5 separate regions of the Homo sapiens genome follow, and regions 1, 2, 4 and 5 are each linked to region 3. Evidence: promoter capture Hi-C in 16 types of primary human blood cells and fetal thymus (Javierre and others, 2016). All regions are on one chromosome and are shown on one strand. Each heading gives the region's core, a stretch centred on a gene start or on the middle of the fragment in contact. The rest is flanking DNA. Distances are from core to core; before and after follow the strand shown.

Evidence for each region. The method cuts DNA at HindIII sites, captures the fragments that hold promoters and counts their contacts. A CHiCAGO score of 5 or more calls a contact.
Region 1: the fragment with the promoter of DIAPH1 here is called in contact with the fragment with the promoter of LARS1 in region 3 in 2 of 17 cell types (total B cells and activated CD4 T cells); the score reaches 6.7 in total B cells.
Region 2: the fragment with the promoter of DIAPH1-AS1 here is called in contact with the fragment with the promoter of LARS1 in region 3 in 1 of 17 cell types (total CD8 T cells); the score reaches 7.0 in total CD8 T cells.
Region 4: a contact is called between the fragment with the promoter of CSNK1A1 here and the fragment with the promoter of LARS1 in region 3, in 1 of 17 cell types (naive CD8 T cells). The highest score is 6.2, in naive CD8 T cells.
Region 5: a contact is called between the fragment with the promoter of TCOF1 here and the fragment with the promoter of LARS1 in region 3, in 1 of 17 cell types (naive CD8 T cells). The highest score is 5.2, in naive CD8 T cells.

Annotation. Positions count from the first base shown.
Region 1 is chr5:141,617,159-141,621,491 of GRCh38, forward strand. It overlaps DIAPH1 (diaphanous related formin 1), which reads right to left and starts at 1,842. Exons shown (of 28, transcript NM_005219.5): 1 at 1,640-1,842. The coding sequence starts at 1,756. It overlaps HDAC3 (histone deacetylase 3), which reads right to left. Exons shown (of 15, transcript NM_003883.4): 15 at 3,723-4,333. The coding sequence ends at 4,310. RefSeq lists silencers at 1,420-1,616, 1,427-1,476, 1,537-2,196. The HindIII fragment of the contact is 3,913 bases long and covers 711-4,333 here.
Region 2 is chr5:141,555,189-141,559,908 of GRCh38, forward strand. It overlaps DIAPH1-AS1 (DIAPH1 antisense RNA 1), which reads left to right and starts at 3,123. Exons shown (of 3, transcript NR_038333.1): 1 at 3,123-3,299. All of the region lies in intron 18 of DIAPH1 (diaphanous related formin 1), which reads right to left. RefSeq lists enhancers at 2,101-2,953, 2,714-3,008. The HindIII fragment of the contact is 6,603 bases long and covers 1,209-4,720 here.
Region 3 is chr5:146,179,083-146,184,070 of GRCh38, forward strand. LARS1 (leucyl-tRNA synthetase 1) reads right to left here and starts at 3,568. Exons shown (of 32, transcript NM_020117.11): 1 at 3,406-3,568. The coding sequence starts at 3,411. RefSeq lists enhancers at 3,092-3,251, 4,160-4,988. The HindIII fragment of the contact is 6,101 bases long and covers 1,561-4,988 here.
Region 4 is chr5:149,549,551-149,553,964 of GRCh38, forward strand. CSNK1A1 (casein kinase 1 alpha 1) reads right to left here and starts at 1,889. Exons shown (of 10, transcript NM_001892.6): 1 at 1,292-1,889; 2 at 525-631. The coding sequence starts at 1,414. It also overlaps a transcript of ARHGEF37 not described here. RefSeq lists enhancers at 1-1,150, 1,397-1,456, 1,587-1,646, 1,677-2,346, 2,046-2,839 and 3 more. The HindIII fragment of the contact is 4,606 bases long and covers 1-2,205 here.
Region 5 is chr5:150,355,105-150,359,669 of GRCh38, forward strand. TCOF1 (treacle ribosome biogenesis factor 1) reads left to right here and starts at 2,593. Exons shown (of 27, transcript NM_001371623.1): 1 at 2,593-2,750. The coding sequence starts at 2,643. LOC105378226 (a long non-coding RNA gene) reads right to left here and starts at 2,316. Exons shown (of 4, transcript XR_944407.3): 1 at 1,402-2,316; 2 at 464-566; 3 at 1-59. RefSeq lists an enhancer at 1,611-1,780 and silencers at 2,381-2,720, 2,801-3,020. The HindIII fragment of the contact is 5,465 bases long and covers 1-4,565 here.

The sequences.
Region 1 (4,333 bases), core at 592-3,091, 4.6 Mb before region 3:
TATGAGCCCTAGAACTTAAGTTTTGGAAGGAAAGCTAACGGGGGGGAGGGGTCAATTCTTATCCTAAAGAAACATACAAAAATGCTGCTTTAGTCACCAAAGAAGGAGGGGGTGTCAATACCCTTAACCTTATATTTCTAGGGGGGGAAAAAAAGATGTTCACCAGATAAAAACAGATGGTTACTGACATCTCAGATATCACTGGAAAGGGCAGTCCAGGAGCACTTGGTCTTGCTAGAAATAGGAAGAGATGAGTCACTATTTTAATTCTATTTAGAATTAAACATCTAACCCTCCAGGGTTAACATCTCAACCCTCTAGGTCATAAAACAACATTTTCTTCCTGTTTCCATCGCTTTATCAGTTTTCTTCCCAAATTTGTGGAGCTGGGTCAAAATGTTGGGAGGTGGGACTAAGAGTTACAAGCCATTTGTTTAGTAGAAAGATACACTAGTGTAAGGGCATAAATACCTGGAAGAGAAGACAAAAGAGCTACAGTTATAACTAGCTATTATAATGATCATCAATATCCAAGACTTTTCCTCTCCTGGACAGTGCCCCGTATCTTACAAAGCTTTTATAGCAAAAAAGCAACCAAACGGCTCCCTGGAGAGAGGCGTTGGTGTGGGCAAAAGGTAATGAAATATGATAGGGTTACATGTATATCACTATTCCTTCACTCGGATTGAAAGTAACTGGCACTTGAGGAAAGCTTACTCTTCTACAGGCACGCAAAGGGAAGCCGATAGTCGCCTTGGGGCACAAGAGGCAGTAGAAAAGGAGTAGAGGAGACGGTTATCATGGGAAATGTATAAAAAACAATTCAATTACAAACTTCTTGAACTCGCAGTCCAACTTTCTTCCCACAGGAGAGGTTTATCACCATCCTAGGTCAAGAAGGGCACAATCATGAGAGTTCTAATCCTCTGAAAAGTGATAAGCAACAGGGCAAAGAGAGAGGTTCTCTGGAGAGAGGAATACTGGTAAACAAATAAACGTCATGCCCCAGTGACCATAGGACCTGGGCAGGAGCCCATTCCTGTAATCGCAAGGACAAACGTCCAAAGAAGGAGTTGGGGGTAGGGCTCAAGTCAGGTAACATTCCTCAGGGGAAGGATTATCAAGTGACACCGGGCGGAGGGCCCACGGGGGACTGGGCGGGAGGAAAGTTAGCAGGTAAAAAGGATGAATCATGGAGAAGGAAGTGACCTTTAGGAGAAGGAAATACGAGAATACCAAAAAAGGTGTAAGGTTAAGAAGAGAAAATGGACCCAGAAGAGGGGACCAAAAAAGAGGAGGCGTGTTCGGGTACTGGAGGAAGAAGAAAGGAAGTGAGGCTGAGAGGGGAGAGACGGGGCTGAGAGCCGGCCGGGGATATGCGGGCGGGAGGGCAGAATGTAAGGGCTGGGGAACGAGGGAAGCCCCGAGGTGGCCGGGGCAAGAGCCGGGTGGGATTCCGGGGCTTCCCGAGGTCCCGAAGGGAGAGGATGTCGGGCTGCAGAGCTGCGGACCGAGCGAAACGAGGAAGGAAGGCGCGGGGGCGGCTCCCCAAAGCCGGGCAGGCGCCCCAGGGGCCGGCTGCAGGGGTCCAGAGGGCGGTTACGGGGCCAGGCAGGAGCGGGATGGGAGGGACACTCACAAATTTCTTAGATTTGCCGCCGTCGCCGCCCGCCGAGGGCAGCTCATCTGGGCTCCGGCCCTTCTTCTTGTCCCGGGTCCCGCGGCCGGGCCCCAGGCTCCCGCCGGGCGGCTCCATGTCCCGGTTCACGCTGGCCGGCGACCCCGCGCCTACGCCGCTCCCGCCTGGCAGCTCCGCGCCCGCCGCCGCCCAGTCGCTCTTTAGCCAGCCGCCGCGCCCCGCCTCATTAGCATGCCGGGCTGCGCGCGCCTCATGAATATACAACGACGACGCCTCGCTCCCGCCCGCCTGCCCCACTTCCGCCCGGACCCGCAGCCCCTACCAATGGGGGAAGGGAGAGGGGCGGAGGGAAGCCGCGGAAGCGCGCTACCTGCCCAGCGGACCTAACCATTCGGACCCACGTGGGGGGGGGTGGTGAGTGGGCGGTGCAGCTCTCCGCGGCCGCGGCGGAGAGCACCGCCCCCTGGCGGTTGGAGCAGCGCAGGCCTCTGGCTCCCACGCAGCGCCCACGTGGCTGTACAGCCTGACAGCCTGGACCCTCTCACATCCCAGACCAAAAATCGCGTGAGACCATTATCCTGGCAGAAAATTAGTGACAGGTTTTCCAAGAGAATGCAGTTTTCAATGTGTGCAATACCCATGGAACACATGAAAAAAATTATAGTGATAGCCACCATGTTTTGAAAGCAAGGTAGCAAGAACAGAGCTCGGTCCAGGGCAAGCACTAGACTAAACCAGACTCGCTCTGGAGTTTAATTTCCTAGTTCGAATTCCAGGTTAGGTACCATCTAATTGTTTCTAATCAGGACAAACTAATTATTGCCAACATGTGCCTAAACAGCAATAACAGTTACCACTTAACCATGCCCTTTGCTCTCTGCTAGGCACTAGGCAAACACTCTACATGTATTTTTCTAAGTCCCCACAGTCCCATGTGATAGATTCTGCTAGCCTCACCATTTTATAAATAGTAAATTTGGACTTTTGAGAGTTGAAGTGACTTGCCCAAGAACGCATAATTGATATAAAATTTAAACCCAGCTTAGTCTGATTTGCTGCCAAACCCTATGTTTAACCAGGATTCCCCACTGACATAAACCAAACATGAGTGAAAAGAATGAGTATTCTCCAAGAGTATATTCTTTGCTCTTCTAGCATGACTTTCTCCCTAAGCAATTTCATCCATTCTCCCAGCTACATCTGTCCCTTGTGTGACAGTTACGTGGCTACCAGTCGGCCTTCACAATATGGACTGAATATTCTTGACCACAGCTAGCAAGATTTCAAGCATAAGTTCCTGAAGGGCAGAGTCAGTGACTTACTTACTCTAGAGCCCCAGTACCTAGTCAAGGGCCTGAGATATACCAGGGACTCTGCCAAGCTGGCTGGCTCCTAAATTTGGCATTCATCTCTCTTGTGGTCCAGACCTTCTGATGGTGATCGGATAGAATGTTACATAGAGCTGTCCATCCCATACTTCAAACTTGACTTAGTGCTGAGCTTTCCAGACATTTTGTCTAAAAAGTCCAAAAGCTACTTTCTAAGCTAGTGTTGAGAACAGACAGAATCAGAGAATGGAGGGGAGGAAGTGACCCATCTATCAGTCCTCTTTCTTGTATCAGTCTGTATCTGCTACAATATTTATCATACTACTGACTGGAATGTAAACTCTTCTAGAGAAAGGTTCATGTTTGTGGCTACTACAGTATTTAGCATTGTTCTTCACATAGACAGATAATGGGCAACTTCTTCTGTCAGGCACTGTGCTAAGCACTTAACATGTTTTATCTCAGTGTATCTTCACCAACTAGCATCACTACTCTAAACACCCAGATTCAAAAACCTGAAGTCATCTTCTACTCCTCTCAAATCTGCCCAGGTTTGTCTAACTCTTAACCAAAATCCTCTATTAACTTCTTATATTTACAATAATAAATGTAGAATACATACACAGGGCCTAACGTAGGATAAGTGCTGAATGAATGTTAACTATGCTTTTATTACATGCATCATCATGCCCATTTCCCTCTCCTTTCATAAATAGGAAACTAGCAAGAATTAACATTCCTAGAAAGGCGAAAGGTACAAAAAATACCGACTTAGTTTATTGGATAAAAACAGTGGTAAAATGGACATAAAGCCAAAAGTGAGAACAGAACATTTTCATATCCTCCCCACACTTGAAAACATACTTCCCATCATCTGGGATTCAGGTGTTAGGGAGCCAGAGCCCCTTCCAAATCTCTCTCTCTTCATCTTCCCTGGAAGCAAGGGGAGGAAGAAGTCAGAACCCAGGGGAGGAGGAAGTCAGAGGCAATCTCAGTCCTTGTCTACCCGTTCATCCCTCAAAAATCTCTGGGTTCGAGGGAAGCAGGGAAGAAATAAGGGGCAAGGGGGGCTAGGGACTGGCCTCCAGGGCCCACTGCCAATAATGTCCCAGATAGCTATCCTTGTCTGTATCTCATCCCTAATAGGTACCATTGTCAGGCCTTGGGAGAGAGAGGAAAAGCAGGTAGATGGTTCGAGAACCAAATGTGGTCTCCAGACTCTTTCCCAGAGTCAGCAAAAGCCCTGGGGTGACCCCCAGGACTCTAGGAGCCACTCCTTTTCCCTCCAGCCCAACCAAGAGGTGAAAAGAAATTCCTTGGGACACAGCATCCCAAGCCACTCTTAAATCTCCACATCGCTTTCCTT
Region 2 (4,720 bases), core at 1,873-4,372, 4.6 Mb before region 3:
TGAATATGAACAAATTAAAACAGTTTGATTTGTTAACATAGTGTGATAATGTAACTATGTGTAAATTTTAAAAACTGTCACCAAACAGGAAACTGTGAGAAAGGTAAGACAGATATGGCTCTGGGCACCACCTATTTTATTTTCATATCCTTAGACAGGTAGGCCTGGTTCAACTTTGACGGTGGGTTAGGAAGAACTCCCACTGACAACCAGCAGTAAAGACAGGCAGTCAAATGTAGAACCCATAGAATGCTCCCATTTGCTGCCTTCCCAGCCTTCTTACAGGAATGGTGCACTAATTAATCATCCAGATACTAAAGCACCTAATATACAACCTTATCAATGCTTGGGTTCCAGCCCCCATTTTCATAAGAGCAAAGATGAGAAGTCCAGAACAAAGGCCTCATGCTGTCCCTCACCCTAAAAACAACATCAAGGGCTGAGTAATTTCAGTTTACAGAATTGTGTGAAATAAGGGACCAAAATAGGTGGGTATAGATAGCACCTTAGCACAAAGGAAAAGAGGAAAATTTTTTCTGCAAAGGCTGTGACTCTCAACAAACAATAGTAGAAAAGAGAGACCCTTACACCTAGCTATGTGGTTAAAAAGTGGCCGTGCCAGGATCCGTATTTCTAGCTGCTGCAATCCTGACCTATTCAGCAGATTCTAAACCTTTTGCTAGTGGGAACTATAGTTTCCAAACTAGACATGGGGCCAATCTAGTCTCCACAGACCAGACTCTACGAGTGTCCTGCCAGCCTTGCCAAGAAGCCAGACCCTGCTAATTCCCTTCTATCACCTGTGCCCTTCCCTTGGGCAAGGGAATAGACTGCTTGCTGTGGCTGCTGAAAGTCAGAGTCACTGACCCATTTCAGAAGTGGGAGAAGAATATTAAGCAAGAACTTTCATCTGATCATTTGCATCTAAGTCAGTCTCAGGGAGTATCTCCAAAAAGGTCAAGGGAAGGACTAGCGATATTATAATCCTGAAGCCATAAAGGACTTTTCACCACATCCCCCCCGGCCCCAACACAGTATTATATTTTTTCTTTCTGTAAAAGTCCATGAAGTGCTGTTAATTCATTGAGTCTTACCAGGGAGAAAGCTGCTACTTAAGTAAAAAAAGTATTCGGGAAAAAAAAAGCTGATACTCTAGAATCACCATAGGGATGCAGCTATTACACAGTGGCCAAACACAGTTGTCCCAAAGCTTAAAAGCTCTCCTTTAATTCTTAGAACGGGTGAGGCCCACTTCTATGACCATGTTCTCCGTTGACGGCAGTGTGCAAACTTTTCTCAAGACTTTGGGTAACAGATTATCACGTCAGGAGAAAAGTAAGAGTCCAGCCCTTTCTCCCTCTGAAGGTGGCAGGGCATTGCTCCTTCACTTGGTCACCAATAGCCTCTGTGGGAAATCCTAAAGAAGAGGCTCTGCTCTGGCAAGAAGGGAAGTCTGGCTTTGTATCTTCTCAGTCCCAACCTGAGAGATCTTCTTTTTATTTATTTATTTATTTATTTTTTGAAATGGAGTCTCACTCTGTCACCCAGGCTTGAGTGCAGTGGTGCAATCTTGGCTCACCACAACCTCCGCCTCCCGGGTTCAAGCAATTCTCCTGCCTCAGCCTCCCGAGTAGCTGGAATTACAGGCATGCGCCACCAGGCGGCCCGGCTAATTTTTGTATTTTTAGTAGAGACGAGGTTTCGCCATATTGGCCAGGCTGGTCTCAAACTCCCAACCTCACGTGATCCGCCCGCCTCGGCCTCCCAAAGTGCTGGGATTACAGGCGTGAGTCACCGCGCCTGGCAGAGATCTTTTTAAAAGAAATTAAGTCTATAAATAAATTGCAAAATAAAAAATAAAAAAGAGCATAAGAGAGAACCTATAGAGACATCAACCAACTGCAATGTGTAGACTTTATTTGGCTCTGATTCAAATGAACTATTAAAAAAAACAACTATCATAAGATAATTTGGGAAATTTAATACTAACTGGCTATCTGATGATAAAGAATTTTTTAAATGTGATAATGGTAGTAATTATCTTCTTTTAAAAGTCCTAATTTTTTTGACACACATTCTGAACTGCTTAAGGATTAAATAATATGAACAAGGATACATGTAAAAATAATGGGTGGCAAAGACAAAGTTGATACAGGTATATGAAACAAGACTAGCTGTTGATTAAGTTTTTTAAATGGGTGATGGACATAGGGGTGTTCATACTAGTCTCTTTACATATATGTGTGTATGTGTGCGTGCATTTTTTTCACGGTTTCAAAAATAACATTTTTTAAAAAAATTCAGGACCATTTCCCTAGAGTCCTTGGGGCATTTGATTCTTCCCAGACAGCTAAGTGAAAGGGGTTCCTTTTTTTCTTCTTTTTTTGGGGGTATCTTTTCTTATCTGATCCTATAATTAAGAAAACTGCCCTAAACATCTCTGTAGCAAAAACACCTAAACCCAGGATTAGAGTCTAGATGAGGCAGAGGGGATGCCCTGGCCTGCTGCCTCAAAAGCTAGCACTCTGTCACTGTTAGTAGGTGTCCGGCAGCCAAACCATTTTGCTCTGTGCTCCGCTGGCAAGGACTTGCGGCATCGATTGCTCAGGATGCAGGCAGCCTGCAGCAAGGTGTGTCCCTGATGAGCAACTGCTGAGTAAAAGAGTACGTAGCTGCGCCTCAGCCAGTCTCCCTCCCTCTGCAAACCAGACTCCTCCTTTGCCTAACTCCTTTTTTTATTCCTGCGTCACAAATACAAAATGGAGTTAGCTGGGAGCAAAAACAATCTGTCTAAAATGGCTGAATGCGGTGGGGAGTGCCAGACAGTAAAGCGAAGGGAAAGGGCACCCCCTGGCGGCCAAGATAGGGAGTCTGTTTTATGTTCTTCACTACTTTTGCATTTCAAACGAATCAGTCCTACAGAGTCCAAGTTAATTTTGTCACAAATCTTGATGTTGAGCTCTAAAATTCAACTAATAGAAACTGAGGCACAAGAAGGGAAAATAATTTTCAGTCTCTAAAGACAAAGGGCACAAGTCAACAGCCCTGAGTTGCAGTTACTGCTTGGTTATGATCAGTAATAGTTTCTAGGAGACAACAGAACGGAAGGGAGGTCCTTTTATAGTACATGATTCCCCAGCTTCAATAATGGACTAATGACCCCCGGAATCCCACCGCTATAGCCTGCACTTCCCCAGGAATTCCTGTTTAAGGCGTCTCTCAATGAAGACCACAAACAGGAAATGGAGGAGTGGGGAGTTGCCTGACATCCTGGAAACTACGTTCTTAAAGAACTGCAGGTGGGAGTAAGTGGGATAGAAAAATGGGCTTTTCAAAAACTGTTGAGAACACGGACTGAGTCAGTTGTATCCGCACGGCTGGAAGACAGGCAGCTCCACCTAACCTCACTCACTTACTCAGGACCAAAACCCTACTTGCTCTGCCCAAGATAAAGCCTGCAGCATTTGTACCTATTCTACAGGGAACACCCTCCATTATCTTTATCTTACGCTACACCTCCCTTGAGTAAGCCAAGTACCTATGACTAAAAAAGAACATGTAAGAAAGGTGGAAAAAACAGAAATTATCTGGAAAAACTTGTGGGTACAAGTCATTAATGGTTGCCACTACTTAAATGAGGCTGCACAAATACGCCAGTTTATCCAACGTCCCTAAAGTGAGATAATGGCAACACATACAACACAGGTGCACAAAAATCACAAGTTGTTAAAAAAAAAAAAAAAAAGACTCTGGCATCACTATAGTTTTCTCTGAAGAAATAGGGTCTTTGTGGAAGAATCTTAGATCTCTCAGGCATATATGAAAGATCAGAACACTTAATAATCTCTCCAGGAAATAACTTTCTGTGAGGGTAACATAGCTATGGAATTGCCAAGTTCACCTAGCATACAATAAGCCATGTCTATTAAGCACTACATCAACTCTCTAATTCTGGGAAGAGGAGACAGTAAGAGGGTCTTAATGTTAATATAAGTGTTAATATAAGAAGCTGCCCAAATGGAGGACTTCTGATTTATATTCTTCATGGTTGTAATATACATAAGGGATAAATTCAGCACTTTAAAACAATCACTAAGGTATACATTATAGAAGGAAAAAATATCATGCCAACCGAATAGCAGTTATCCCTGCCCAAAGGTAACCGTATCACTGATACCTTGGCCAAAATATACAACTATCTGCAAAATCCCACAGAACTAGACCATTACAGATGTGCAAGCTGTAAGGAGGGACAGGGCAAACTGGCATTAATGAACAAACCTAAAGGACAAGAACAAAGCCACACAGAATCCCAAAGGAAGAACCAGATGCTGAGAGTTATAAAGAAGGGGACAGATATAAGTCTGGAAGGGTAGCAGAAAAGCAGTATTAAAAATCTGGGCACTTCACCAAGCATTTGGTCTTTCAGATAATATAGTCATTGAGTTTCCCACAGATACTTTCCCAGCACACCCAGGATGGTGACTCAATTAGGGAGTGCTAAAAAGAGGTCTGCTTCTAGGATGTGGGTGGGGAAGGACTGGAAGGACAGGCACTATCCCAAACAAGGACTCAGGTATGTCAGCAAAGAGGACAGGTTTATGCAAGGAAACAATAGGCTAGAGGGCAGAAGAAAAGGCATTAAAATAAGGTACTAGAAATAAAACTCTTTTCCTGGATTAAAAAATGTTTTATTATGGGAAAAATTAAACATTCAAAA
Region 3 (4,988 bases), core at 2,318-4,817:
TTAGCCGGATGCGTTGGCATGCGCCTATAATCTCAGCTACTCGGGAGGCAAAGACAGGAGAATTACCTGAACCCAAGAGGCGGTGGTTGCAGTGAGCCAAGATGGAGCCACTGCACTCCAGCCTAGGCAACACAGCAAGACCAATCTCAGCTCACTGAAACCTCCATCTCTGGGGTTCAAGCAATTCTCCTGCCTCAGCCTCCCGAGCAGCTGGGATTACAGGTGCGTGCCACCATACCTGGCTAATTTTTGTATTTTTAGTAGAGACGAGGTTTCACCATGTTGGCCAGGCTGGCCTCAAACTCCTGACCTCAGGTGGTCCACCCGTCTCAGCCTCCCAAAGTGCTGTGATTACAGGCATGAGCCACCCAGCCCGGTCTGTAAAATATAATTTCTAATATTTTTACAGAGGAAAGGACCCACCCACAAAGGCAAAAGTATGTAGGGCCTCATGAAGCCTAGTCATATCTCCTACCCTACGGTCATGGGTAATATGAAATTTCACTGTATTTATGTGTGTGTGTCTGTGTGAGAGAGAGAGGGTCTCCCTCTGCCACCCAGGCTGGAGCATAATGGTGCAAGCACCAGCTCACCGCAGCCTTGACCTACTGGGCTCAATCAATCTTCCCATCTCAGCCTCCTGAATAGCTGGGACTACAGGCATATGCACCACCATACCCAGATAGTTTTTGTATTTTTTTGTAGAGACAGGGTTTCACCATGTTGCCTAGGCTGGTCTTGAACTCCTAGGCTCAAGCAATCCACCAGCCTTGGCTTTCCAAAGTGCTGACATTACAGGCTTGAGCCATCGCCTTTGGCCAACTTCCACTTTATTACTAAATTCCTCCTTAACCAACTTGAGTTGACTTCTGTTAAATGCAACCAATGATCTTAAGACATTTATGCAGTTGGGCTGTAAATTCTCAACAGGCAGGAACTTTTAAATTGTTTATAGTCACCTTAGCACAAAGTACAATGCCACAGACACAGAAGTTATGTAACAAATATCTTTTACCTAAAAATTACCATGAGCAGGACATGGGAACACTGAGGCCAGAGGATCACTTGAACCCAGGAGATCAAGGCTGGCTGCAGTGAGCTATGATTGCACTACTGCACTGCAGCCTGGTTGATAGAGTGAGTCCCTGTCTCAAAAAATAAAAAATATGGCCAGGTGCATTGGCTCACACCTGTAATCCCAGCACTCTGGGAGGCCAAGGTGGGCGGATCACTTGAGGTCAGGCGTTCAAGACCAGTCTGGCCAACATGGTGAAACCACAACTATACCAAAAAATACAAAAATTAGCAGCGCATGGTGGCGCACACCTGTAGTCCCAGCTACACAGGAAGCTGAAGTGGGAGAATCACTTGAACTTGGGAGGCACCACTGCACTCCAGCCTGGGAAAGAATGAGACTCCATTTCAAAAAAAAAATAAAAATAAAAATAAAAAATATGATCATGTCACCCATTGTAAAGAAGACTATGAAAGCAAGTCTTTTACAAATTACTTAGAACTATGTGTTTCTTTTCATTGTACTGAGTATGCCAAATGCAAGAAAGCTTTTATTTGAGTTTTCTGTTTCTCAGAAAAACTTGTTTCTCAAAACCTCAAAGATCAAGTATAATAAAATCTGATATTGGCCCAAACACCAACTTGTTGTATAACCTTGAGCAAGTCATTTGATCAATCTGAGACTCAACCTCCTCACTGGTAACAAAAGGCTATATAACTAAATCAGAGTTCCTAAACTTTGGCACTACTTACACTTTGGGCCAAATAATTCTTTGTTTTCAGGGGTTGTCCTGTGCACTGCAGGATGTTTAGAAGCATCCCTGGCTTCTACCCGGGATCCCTGCTTTTCACTTACACTGTTGCCCCTGCCTGGAAATCTCTTTCTTCCTATAGTTGCATAGGTTGCTCTCTTACCTCGTTTTTGCCACCTTTTTGGCAAAGCCTTGCTTGATCATCCTTTTAAAAATTGCAACAGGCCAGGCGCCATGGCTCACGCCTGTAATCCCAGCACTTTGGGAGGCCGAGGCGGGCAGATCACGAGGTCAGGAAATTGAGTCCATCCTGGCCAATGTGGTGAAACCCTGTCTCTACTAAAATACAAAAAATTTAACTGGGCATGGTGGCGCGCGCCTGTAGTCCCAGCTACTCGGGAAGTTGAGGCAGGGGAACCGCTTGAACCTGGGAGGAGGAGGTTGCAGTGAGCCGAGATCGCGCCGCTGCACTCCAGCCTGGCGACAGGGCAAGGCTCCGTCTCAAGAAAAAAACAAACAAACAAACAAAAAACAAAAAAAAATAAAACCAGGCGGGATGGCTCATGCCTGTAGTCCCAGCACTTTCGGAGGCTGAGACAGAAGGATCGCTTGACCCCAGGAGTTCGAAACCCTGTCTCTACTAAAAATACAAAAAATTAGCAGGGTGTAATGGAGCACGCTTGCAGTACCAGCTGTGGGGAGGCTGAGGTGTGAGGATCGCTTGAGCCCTAAGGTCCAGGCTGCAGTGAGCCATGATCACGCCACTGCATTCCAGTCTGGGTCACAGAGTGAGAACATCTCCCAAATTTAAAAAAATTTTTAAAAATTGCAACTGTACTACCCCACCGTACACTCCCTAGCACCCCTTCCTGCTCTATTTTTTCCCCACAGCATTTATCAGCACCTGACACAATATTTTACAATGTATTTTACCCACACACATAAACACTATGAAAAGAGAGATTTTTGTCTGTTTTACGGAGAGGCGCTCAATTTTTTCTTTTTTTTTTTTTTTTTTTTTTTTTTTTTTTGCTGTAAGTAGGAATCAACTTACATACTCCTCTCTCCACCTCGGCTTTATTTGTTTGTTTATTTATTTATTTTATTTTTAAGACGGAGTCTCACTCTGTCGCCCAGGCTGGAGTGCAGTGGCGCGATCCTGGCTCACAGCAGCCTCCCTCTCCCGGGTTCAAGCAATTCTCCTGCCTCAGCCTCCCGAGTAGCTGGGTTAACAGGCGCGCACCACTACGCCCGGCTAATTTATGTATTTTTGGTAGAAACGGGGTCTCACCATGTTGGCCAGGGTGGTCTCGAACTCCTGACCTCAAATGATCCACCCGCCTCGGCCTCCCAAAGTGCTGGGATTACAGCCGTGGGCCACCGTGCCCGGCTCTCCACCTCGATTTTAGAAACTCCAGAGAAATAACAAATATGATATCCAAGTACTCCGTAAAGTTAACAGACATCAGTTCGTGGTTCATAAACTAGCAAGAAAAAGCAAAGTCTCTACGAAAGGCACGCCTTAAGCGTGGCTCTCTTTTAGAAAAGGACTTTCCCTTCAGGACAGCACATGGAGAGCCCCTAGAGACTGGCCAGTCCGGCTCCAGGGCCCCTGCGGATTCTTCTCGCTCAAACTCACCGCCATTGCACCGCCCAGCCGACTGTGCAAATCCACGACAATGACCCTGGCGACCTCCACAAAGGAGTGGTTACCTTTCCCCTCCCTCTCGGGGATGCCAGGCCTCCCACGAAACTAAAGCACACGCTTCACACCTGCTGAGGCAATCATCCGGCTCCTTACTAACTACAGCCAAGGCATCTCACAGCCCGCCGGGAATTGTAGTTCCCAGACCACCCGAGCAGACACCCAGCAGGCGCTAACTGACTACAATTCCCAGAGAAAAACGGGTTATCGGAAGTCTACCCGATAGGCCCACTCAGAGGGGAACCGGCAGTGACGTCACTGGCATGTTGAACTACAAAGTCCATGATGCAGTGCGGGATCGCAGAATGCCGCGAGTGCGCCCTGGTTAGGTTGGAGTCCCTTGGCCATCAACCTTTTCACCCGGTAGAGCTGGTTGCCTGTCGGGATGCCAGGATACGCAGTTAATTACTATACGGTGACTGAGGTGCTACTTATGGCTTGCCACTATGCACAGATATTTTTTACTGTCAGTGGCATTCAACAGCCCAGCATTTAGACATTGTATAACCGCGTATTGACAATCTCCTTTTTTTTTTTTGAGACGCAGTATCGCTCTGTCGCCCAGGCTGGAGTGCAGTGGCGCGATCTTGGCTCAGTGCAACCTCGGCCTGCCGGATTCAAGCAATTCTCCTGCCTCAGGCTCCCGAGGAGCTGGGACTATGGGCGCGCGCCACCACACCGACTAATTTTTTGTATTTTTGGTAGAGACTGGGTTTCACCTTGTTAGCCAGGATGATCCCGATTTCCTGACCTCGTGATCTGCCTCCCTCGGCCTCCCAAAGTGCTAGGATTACAGGCGTGAGCTACCGTACCTAGCCAACAATCTCCTTTTTTTTTTTTTTTTTTTTTTTTTTTTTTGAGAGGGAGTTTCGTTCTGTCTCCAGGCTGGAGTGCAGTGGCGCGGTTTCGGCTCACTGCAACCTCCGCCTCCCGGGTTCAAGCGATTCTTCTGCCCCAGCCTCCTTAGTAGCTGGGACTACAGGCGCGCGCCACCGCGCCCAGCTAATTTTTGTATTTTCAGTAGAAACGGGGTTTCACCATATTGGCCAGGATGGTCTCGATCTCCTGAACTCGTGATCCGCCCGCCCCAGCCTCCCAAAGTGATGGGATTACAGGCGTGAGCCACCGTGCCCGGCCAACAATCTCCATTTTTAAGCAAGAGACTGAAAGCCTACCTGGTCCCATTGCCTGACTCAGACTATTTAGACCACTACCAAACAGGGCCAGGGGCGGTGGCCATAATCCCATTATTTTGGGATGCCGAGGTGGGCGGATGACCTGAGGTCAGGAGTTTGAGACCAGCCTGGCCAACATGGTGAAACCCCGTCTCTACTAAAAATACGAAAATTAGCTGGGTATGGTGGCGTGCACCTGTAGTCCCGGCTACTCGGGAGGCTGAGGCAGGAAAATTGCTTGAACCCAGGAGGCAGAGGGTGCACTGAGTCGAGATCGCACCACTGCACTCTATCTTGGGCGGCAGAGCGAGACTTCATCTCAAGGGAAAAAAAAAGACTGGT
Region 4 (4,414 bases), core at 639-3,138, 3.4 Mb after region 3:
AAGCTGAGAAAAGGGCAGGAATATGGGGTTGAGTCACGTCGTTCCGCCATTTTCTAAGCGGAGGAGGAAGACATGTTGGAACAAAAACACAACAAAAGAGCAGCCATTTCCCAAGCCAGCTCCAATAGCAACTCGAACTGACACTGCCGGGTCGCTTCGGCACCTTCAAATCCACTTCACTGGACAAACCTAAGTACATCAGAAGTGCCGCCGTAAAAAAGGCAGCAGCCAACCCTTCCGCGTAGGGATCAAAGATGACCTGCACGCATAACTGCAAATGAAAGCCTCGGGAAGAGTGAGAATGACGGAAGCGAAATGGAGCAGTGTAATACAATGAAATAAGTTGGCAAACTGAAATTTACTCAGTAATTGAGATGACTGACTTACAGGAAACCACCAGCTATAGGGAACCCAGGTAACTAAAACACCAAGACCCGGATTCAGCTGGTCTCATTACCTGCCTCTACCCACTTCCCCATTCCGTGCTTCCCTCAGCGGATCGCCTATATGCACCGGGTTCTTACCGTATGTGGGGGATGCCAACCCCACCTTGAAGAATCTTATAGAGCTTGCTCTCGTACAGCAACTGGGGATGCCTGGCCTTCTGAGATTCTAGCTTCACTGCCACTTCCTGCAGGGGAAAGAGGGGATGATGGCATCAACATCCCTACGGATTCAATGTCACTTAGGAAAGGAGGGAGACATTAGCAAAACTCCAAGTCGCGACTACAAGAAGAAGTGAAAAGCTGGAAAGAGAAAGCTCTCGGTAATTATAAAACGAGGCAACCAGCCTCAAAGGCCTCTTCAGGGGGTAGTGACGAAATCCGTACGTCCTCTAAAGTGCAGGAAAATGATTCATCCAGAAAAAAGAGGCAACCTCTGAACGTAGTGAGAGGTTTTTAAGGAACTAGGCGATCGGAAACTGTTCTAATTGGAACAAGAGGCCCAGTAGAATTAAGAATTAAAAAAAAAAAAACATGGGAATCACTGAAAGAGGATTTTGCCGTTTCCACCTTAAAAGACGGTTAAAAAAAAAAAAAGCTCGACTAAGGGACATTTATGGGACGTGTTTAACAAGGTGGGAAACTAGTTCCCCCAACCTTTCTATCGGGTTCTTGACCCTTTTAGGGAGACAGCGGACGAGGTTCGTAAGCCAGGAAAACTAGCTCCCTGGACTCCCTGGCGAGTGCGTGCGATGAGGAGAGGCCCGAGCACTTTGGGGGTGCACGGTGGTGGTGGGGGGAATGAGTAAAAGCGCAGCGTTATCGTGAACCCCACCCCAGATGATTACCTCGCCGTTGGTGATGTTGATCGCCAAATAGATGTCCCCGAAGGAGCCAGACCCGATCTTCCGTACCAGTTTATATTTCCCTCCGACAATGAATTCAGCCTTGGAGCCGCTGCTACTCGCCATCCTGAGAGACGAAGATGGAGGCTGGGGCCAAGCCCCGACACCTCTGGGAAGAGGACGGAGGCCTCGGGGCTCCTACACTAGGCAAGGCTACGGAGGAGGGCGGCAGGAAACGGAACACGGAGGCCTTTACCGGGGTTCGGGGCCCAGAATCAGCAGAGGGGAACCTGATCACCGCCGCTCAGTCAGGTTTCTTTTTGCCAGGCCGCAGTTTGTGAAGGGCTTCTCGGCGGTTACCAGGCTGGGCCACTTGTTTCTCGGCGGCCGCCGCTGCCTCGCTTGCGCGGCGACGTCGCGGGCTGGAAAAGGGGCGCGGTGAGCTAGGGCGGCGATACCGCTGCCACCACTGCCGCCGGCTCCGGCCCAGAGGGACCCCTGTCACTCCGCGGACGACGCCATCTTGTTACTCCAGCTCCAGCCAACACAAAATGCCCCCAGTCCCCGGGAGCCGCTTCTTCACGGCGCAGAGCACTCTGGGAAAGGGATCTCGGGCGCTCGCTCCGAAGGATCGGCAGCGAGAGGGCGGAACCGGATCCGTGAGAGTCGCGGCCCACGCTCCGAGCGTCACCCTGTCACCGCCCAGCTGCGCATGAGCGCTGCAACTCCTGCTGACTGCGCAGGCGTGCCGCGGCCTGTCCTCACCCCCGTCCCGGGCTCTCTTCCACTTCCGGTCGGCGGCGGCTCAGCAGGTGTTACCTGTTACTCGCCTCGGACCCGCCGGGTCTCTGGAAGGCTGAGTGGCCCCCCGGCCTTGATATTGGGAGGAGTCACCTTCATGTTTCGTGGCAGATGAAAGCTTAAGGCCTCCTTAGGAGTTGGGTATTGACCTGTGCTCTTTGAGGCGGTTTTTAACCTTTGATCTTTCTTCTGGCCGTTCCCCCGGACCGGCCTATTCCAACCCAGTTTCTGTTTGGAAAGAGGCTGTCGCCTCTGGTGGAGAGGAAGAGAAAAGCAGCCAGCGTCGAGGAATCTCTCAGGGCTCTCGGTTGTAGCAGAGCCTAGCTAATTACCCTTCATAATTAGAATTGTCCTATCTACTACGGAGTGTTATAGACCCTCTTTCCACAGGAGGGGAAGAAAGAAAGAAGCCGGAATCCCCCTGCCATCCTATGTCTTTGCATTATTGCCTCACTACCACATATGATCTTCAGAAGAAAACCTGGTATGTTGCTCATAATGAAGATTAAGGATAGATGGAATCAACAGAAAATTAATTTAACAAGAGTGAAAAAACTGTTATGTCCCCTCAACCCCACCAAAAAAAAAAAAAAAAAAAAAAAAAAGAATCGTATGTTGGTCTTGTTGAAAACCTCAGTATTAACCTGAACAGAGTAGAGGTAACTATTACAAAATTTAATTGACAACATTTAAAACTACACGGTAATTTTTTTCTTTTTTACAAAAAATCGATCAGAGAATCAAATTTTGACCACGTTTTGTTTTACAAAATTTGACCTGGGAAAATTGGGCTTAGTAATAATAATGTTCACGAAAGAAAACTCCATGGTTGATGCTATCATCTTAAGTCAGACCTCAGTCGTAAAAATTTAAGCTAAGCCTATCCTAAATAAAATTTAATTAAAATAGAAATGGGGGGCGGGCGCAGTGGCTCACGCCTGTAATCCCAGCACTTCGGGAGGCCGGGGCGGGCAGATCACTTGAGGTCAGTTGTTCGAGACCAGCCTGGCCAACATGATGAAACCCCGTATCTACTAAAAATACAAAAATTAGCCGGGTGTGATGGCGCACACTTGTAACCCCAGCTATTCGGGAGTCTGAGAATCGCTTGAACCCGGGAGGCGGAGGTTGCGGTGAGACTAGATCACGCCACTGTACTCCAGCCTGGGCAACAGAGAGACCCTGTCTCAAAAAAAAAATAATTAATTAAATAGAAATGGGAGAAAAATGTGAAGAATTTTAACTGCAACTTTGAAAGGTGGTCAAGTAATTAGTAATAGGGTTCATCTCGGAAGACAACTGAAGAGAGAGGGGAGGAGACTTCCCCTGAAGTTTAGCATGAAGTTTTTAAAGCCCAACCAACACTCAGGGTGCCCAACTCCCAAATCAGCACTGTTAGACATCATTCTCCTTTGGTGACTCTAAAGCATGTTTTGACTAAGTTAAAATCTGCTGTTAAATTCTGATATAAAATGCAGCCGGGCATGGTGGGCTCACACCTGTAATCCCAGCACTTTGGGAGGCCGAGGCGGCTGGATCACCTGAGGTCGGGAGTTCGAGACCATTCTGGCCAACGTGGTGAAACCCTGTCTCTACTAAAAATACAAAACTTAGCTGGGCATGGTAGCATGTGCCTTGTAGCTCCAGCTACTAGGGAGGCTGAGGCAGGAGAATCGCTTGAACCTGGGAGGCAGAGGTTACAGTGAGCCGAGATCGTGCCACTGCACTCCAGCCTGGAGACAGAGCGAGACTCCACTCCATCTAAAAAATTAATTAATTAATCAATTCTGGTCTTAAAAAAAAAAAAGCCAAGTTTAAGCATCTTGAGTTTTCCAGAGATCACTCCTTTTCTGCTAATTTTCTCACACACATCCAAAGTTTAATGGATTCCTCAGCTTGAGGAGTTCTCCATAAGGGGATGAGGTATACATTTAGACGGATATTTTGGTATTGTGATAAAAATGCTCAATGAAGCCGGGGGCAGGGTAAGGGTGGGCATGAAGTGGTCTAAATTAGTGATTCCCAAAGATCTGTGTATGGACAGGTGCAAGTGGCTAACAAAGTTTGCCATGAGGATGTGAGAAAAGTAAGCAATACATCTTTCATTTATTTATCTGATTTCACATTATATTTCATTCTGAGATTTAGTCTTTTCACATATGTGTCATTAAAATGCTCTTTTATAAAAAGGTGCCGATGGTAGATGGTTTTGGTTTTTAAAATATTCTTGCTCGGTTAAAAGTTGAGCCCGGGTGCAGTGGCTCACACCTGTAATCCTAGCACTTTGGGAGGCCAAGGAAGGGCAATCACCTGAGGTCAGGAGTT
Region 5 (4,565 bases), core at 1,343-3,842, 4.2 Mb after region 3:
CTCCACGCCACGTCCAAACCCAGGTTTCCAAGAACCTTCTCAACATCTGCATGTGGTGACTGTAAGGCATTTCAAGCTCAAGATGTCTAACATAGAATATATACTTTCACCTCTCTGTCCACATCCTCCTCTCCTCAATCAAACCACCCCCCTGTCTCAGTCCTCTTCTAGTTTTTTCTATCTCAGTGAAAAATACTGCCTACTTGTTTGCACAGAAACCTCAAGGTCCATTCTGACATTGCCTTTTCCTTCCCCTCCCATTCCAACACACCTCTGTGAAAACTTTAGTTCCTGATTAACTCTGGGAACCTTCCACTCTCTTCAACTCCACTGCCACCAGCACCCTCCCCGCTGCCCCCGCCACCTACCACCCGCCCCCCCCCCCCACATACACTGTCTTCTCCCTGGATGCCTGCCTGCACTCCTAACCCTGACTTGTCTTCCCACATCTACTCATACCCACCAGACACACTCCACTCTCCACTGGGCAGGCACACAGGTCACAGTAAAATTCAGATTTCATCCTGTACCTCTTGGGCTTACACCGTCAGTGGCTTCCAATGGCTCTTAGGATGGAGGAAAAAAAACCCTGATGTGGCCAATCCTTCACATGGAGTCTGCCCTCTGCCCACCTTCTACACTCCCCAGTCCCCCTGCTCTCCCTCCGGACTATGCTACAAAGGCCTTTTTGTGTCTATTCTCTCAGCTGTACCTTCTGCCCTAGGCCCTTTGCACAGGTTCTTCCCTCTGCTCAGGTTTCTTCTCTCTGACTCTCCCTTACACACAGTTCTGGTTTCCTCATAACCATTAATTTCTCAGGGAATCCTTCCCTAACTCCCAAGAAAAAAATAGATCCCTCCTTCCTGTTATATGCTTTCACAATAATAGCACACACGCACACAGAGAGCGCTATTGTTCAGAGCTCCTCTAAGCATTTCTGCTGAGAATTCATTTACTCCTTATGACAACCCAGTGAGGTAGAAATTATAATTATCTCCATTGTACAGATAAAGAAACTGAGTCACAGTGACTTGCCCAAAGTCACCTAGTTAATGAGGCAAAGCCAGAATTTGAACCCAGGCAGTGTGACTCCAGTGCAGCTTTTAAACACTATATTATTACATAAGAAAACACTATCCTTTTCCTTCCTGCACTTACCCGCTGTTTGTAACACTGTATTGTATGACTATTAGTTTAGTATGTGTCTCCTCCGTTAGACTGTAAGCTCTATTGGAGTAGAGACAATTCCATCACTAGACTGTAAGCTCTATAGGAGTAGAGACTATTCCATCCCCAATGGTAGGTACTCAATAAATATTTGCTCAAGAAAATGGGAAATGTTGAATGTGTACAGACACATAACATTTTCCATTCAAGTTCAAGACAAAGATAACCACATACCTGGACCTCCTAGGGTTAGGGACTCCTGCGCCCGTAAGAAACATGCTGCCCTCAGATTCTCAATGGGTCGGTGAAGTTAAGAACAGCTCACTCTAACATTCTCCAGCCTACCTCACCTTTTCCCTGCCATCCTTCCCTCAACAACTACAACAGCCTCACATTTAGTATTAATGGTATGTGCTTTGGTTTTAGCAATCTTTTAAAAACACAAAACAGGGTCAACCTCCTCGGAAAAGCCAGTCAGAGACTATCTAATGCCCTCAGAGCAAAGTCCAAACTCTGTTGGGGGTGGGGGAGTTGTAGGCCTTGTCTACTTCTTCATCCTCATGTGCCCTCATTTGTTCCCTCTTCCCCACCTCACCCCACCCCACCTGGACAGCCCAGCAGCGCAGACTAGGGGTTCTGGGTTTAGGGTTCCCAGGCAATAGCAGGGTGTTTTCTCATGCCTAGACTCATGCAGTGCCCTCTGCCAGTCCTCTCCTTTGCACCCAGCAATTTCGGGTGTCTTTATGCCTCAGCTTAGATATCTCTCTGGGGTTCGGTGCTCCTCCTTGGGGCGCCCATAGGCTGCATCTGTCCCTGACAAGGCACACAAGATATTGAACTATAGTTGCTTGGTTACGGACAGTCGTCTCTGTGAGCTTTGAGGGCAACTGCCATGTATTATGCATCTTTTGAATCCCCCTAGCCTAGCCGGGTGCTAGCCCAAGTTAGGTGCTTATTACAGATTTGTTCAGTTAGCGAATGAATCAATGAATAAACTGGCAATTCGTGTCTGGTTCATGGGCACCAAAAACCGTGCGAAATGGATAAATGAGCAGGTAATGGCAGTACAAAGTTCGGATCTAGAGAAAGATCCAGATTAGGGAGTTCAGAGATGAGTAAAACGCAGACCCAGCCATCAGAGAATTAACAAGGAAGATAAATCTCTTCAAGAAGCCAGCCGGAAGGATTAAAAGAGAGTCGTCCAAGTCCCGGCCGGCCCCGGGGGCGGGTCCCTGTCTAGCCCCGCATGCTCCGCGCCAATGGGCGGTATTGTTGATCACGAGTCTCCGCCCCCTTCGCCTTGAGGGGCGGGGCCGGCCACTCCCGGAGAGGGGACTACGTTTCCCGGCGCGCCGCGCGGCCGGAGCGAAAGAGGAGCCGGAAGTGTGGCGCGCGAGGTCTAAGGGCGCGAGGGAAGTGGCGGGCGGGGACTAAGGCGGGGCGTGCAGGTAGCCGGCCGGCCGGGGGTCGCGGGTATGGCCGAGGCCAGGAAGCGGCGGGAGCTACTTCCCCTGATCTACCACCATCTGCTGCGGGCTGGCTATGTGCGTGCGGCGCGGGAAGTGAAGGAGCAGAGCGGCCAGGTAAGCGTTCGTGGGCCGTGTGCGAGGGCCGCGTGCAAGATGTGGAGATCAGCGGCCCGCGGCCCGCGCCCCGTCCCCAGGCGACCCGGCAGGCGCCCGGAGCCGGGTCCCGCAGTGCTCGACGGCGCGGCCAGGGGTACCGGAGGAGCCGCAATCTCTGCCTTCCCACTGCGACTTCAGTTCCCCTGGGCCTCACTTTCCTCATCCGGGCAGTGGGTTGGGCCAGAAAGTGTGCTCGCAGGGGCCGAACTTTGTAATTCCCGCTTCCCTTACCTCCACGCCCTTCCTGGTAGCGGGTATTTTAAGTTTCCTAAGTCTCCCGCCACGTGGCTAGGCTCTGCGCGGCCCCCCCTGGGGCAAGGAGGTTGCTGCGAGTCTCGGGGGTGGATTGCGACCAGCCCCTCGGGGGAGCGCCTGGAAAAGGGACCCTACAGCCTCTTAGTTGAGCTGGAACTCAGGCCTTTAGCGATTGTCTGTACTGAGACGGTCAGCTTTGGTACTCGAACTCGTGGTACAGTCATTTCTTACTTGATTAATTCAACTGTTAATCCGGTACTCAGGGTGCTTCCTGGTGTTCGAATGGTGAGCACCATCTCTCAGCCCTCCTGGAGCTTACACTCTAGTAAGGTAGACAAATCAAAGAATCACAAAAGTGACTATATGCTTAGCACCGCAATAAGTGTTAAGAATGAGAGGGATGGGCCGGGCACGGTAGCTCACGCCTGTAATCCCAGCACTTAGGGAGGCCGAGACTAGCGGATCACCTGAGGTCAGAAGTTCGAGACCAGCCTGGCCAACATGGTGAAACACCGTTTCTACTAAAAATACAAAAATTAGCTGGGCATGTTGGCGCACGCCTGTAATCCTGGCTACTCATGTGGCTGAGGCACAAGAATTGCTTGAACCCGGGAGGCAGAGGTTGCAATGAGTCAAGATCGTGCCACTGCACTCCAGCCTGGGCGATAAAGCGAGACTCTGCCTCAAAAAAAAAAGAGAGATGGATGGCAGATTGCCCTGGTCAGGAATAGCTGAGGTGTAAATGCCTTGTGGTGGGAGGGAACTTGTGTACACACTGGCCTGGAGAAAGTCCACTCTCTTGAGCCCAGGAATTTGAGGATACAGTATGAGCCATGATCATGCCACTGCACTCCAGCCTGGGCAACAGAGCAAGACACTGTCTCAAAAAAAAATTTTTTTTAAGTCCATAGCAGGCCAGGTACGGTAGCTCACGCCTGTAATCCCAGCACTTTGGGAGGCCGAGGCAGGCGGATCACTTGAGGCCAGGAGTTCAAAACCAGCCTGACCGACATGGTGAAACCCTGTCTCTACTAAAAATGCAAAAATTAGCCATGCATGGTGGCATGCACCTGTAGTCCCAGTTACTCGGGAGGCTGAGTCAGGAGAATCACTTGAACCCAGGAGGCAGAGGTTGCACTGAGCTGAGACTGAGCCACTGCACTCCATCCTGGGTGACAAGGCGAGACTCCATCTCAAAAAAAAAAAAAACGTCCATAGTGGCTGAAGTGTGAAGTACAAGGGCCAGATGCCCCTGGGGAGATGGAGGCAGGGGCTGGCTGGAGTGGTCTGGTGGGCAGTTTGATCTTCCTTGGAAGAGCAGTGGTAAACCAATGGAGAGTTTTGAACTGGTGAGACAGTATCCTAAGTAGTCAGATCCCTTTGCCCTGTGGTGTAGGCTCTGCTCCTAATGCTTGCTCTCAGAACCTCCTGGAGGGACTAAAGGGTGATGGGCCCTAAGACGTTATGTATGCTTTTCCCAGTTTCTCTGAACCTCACTTGCTCTTCCTACCGCAGCTA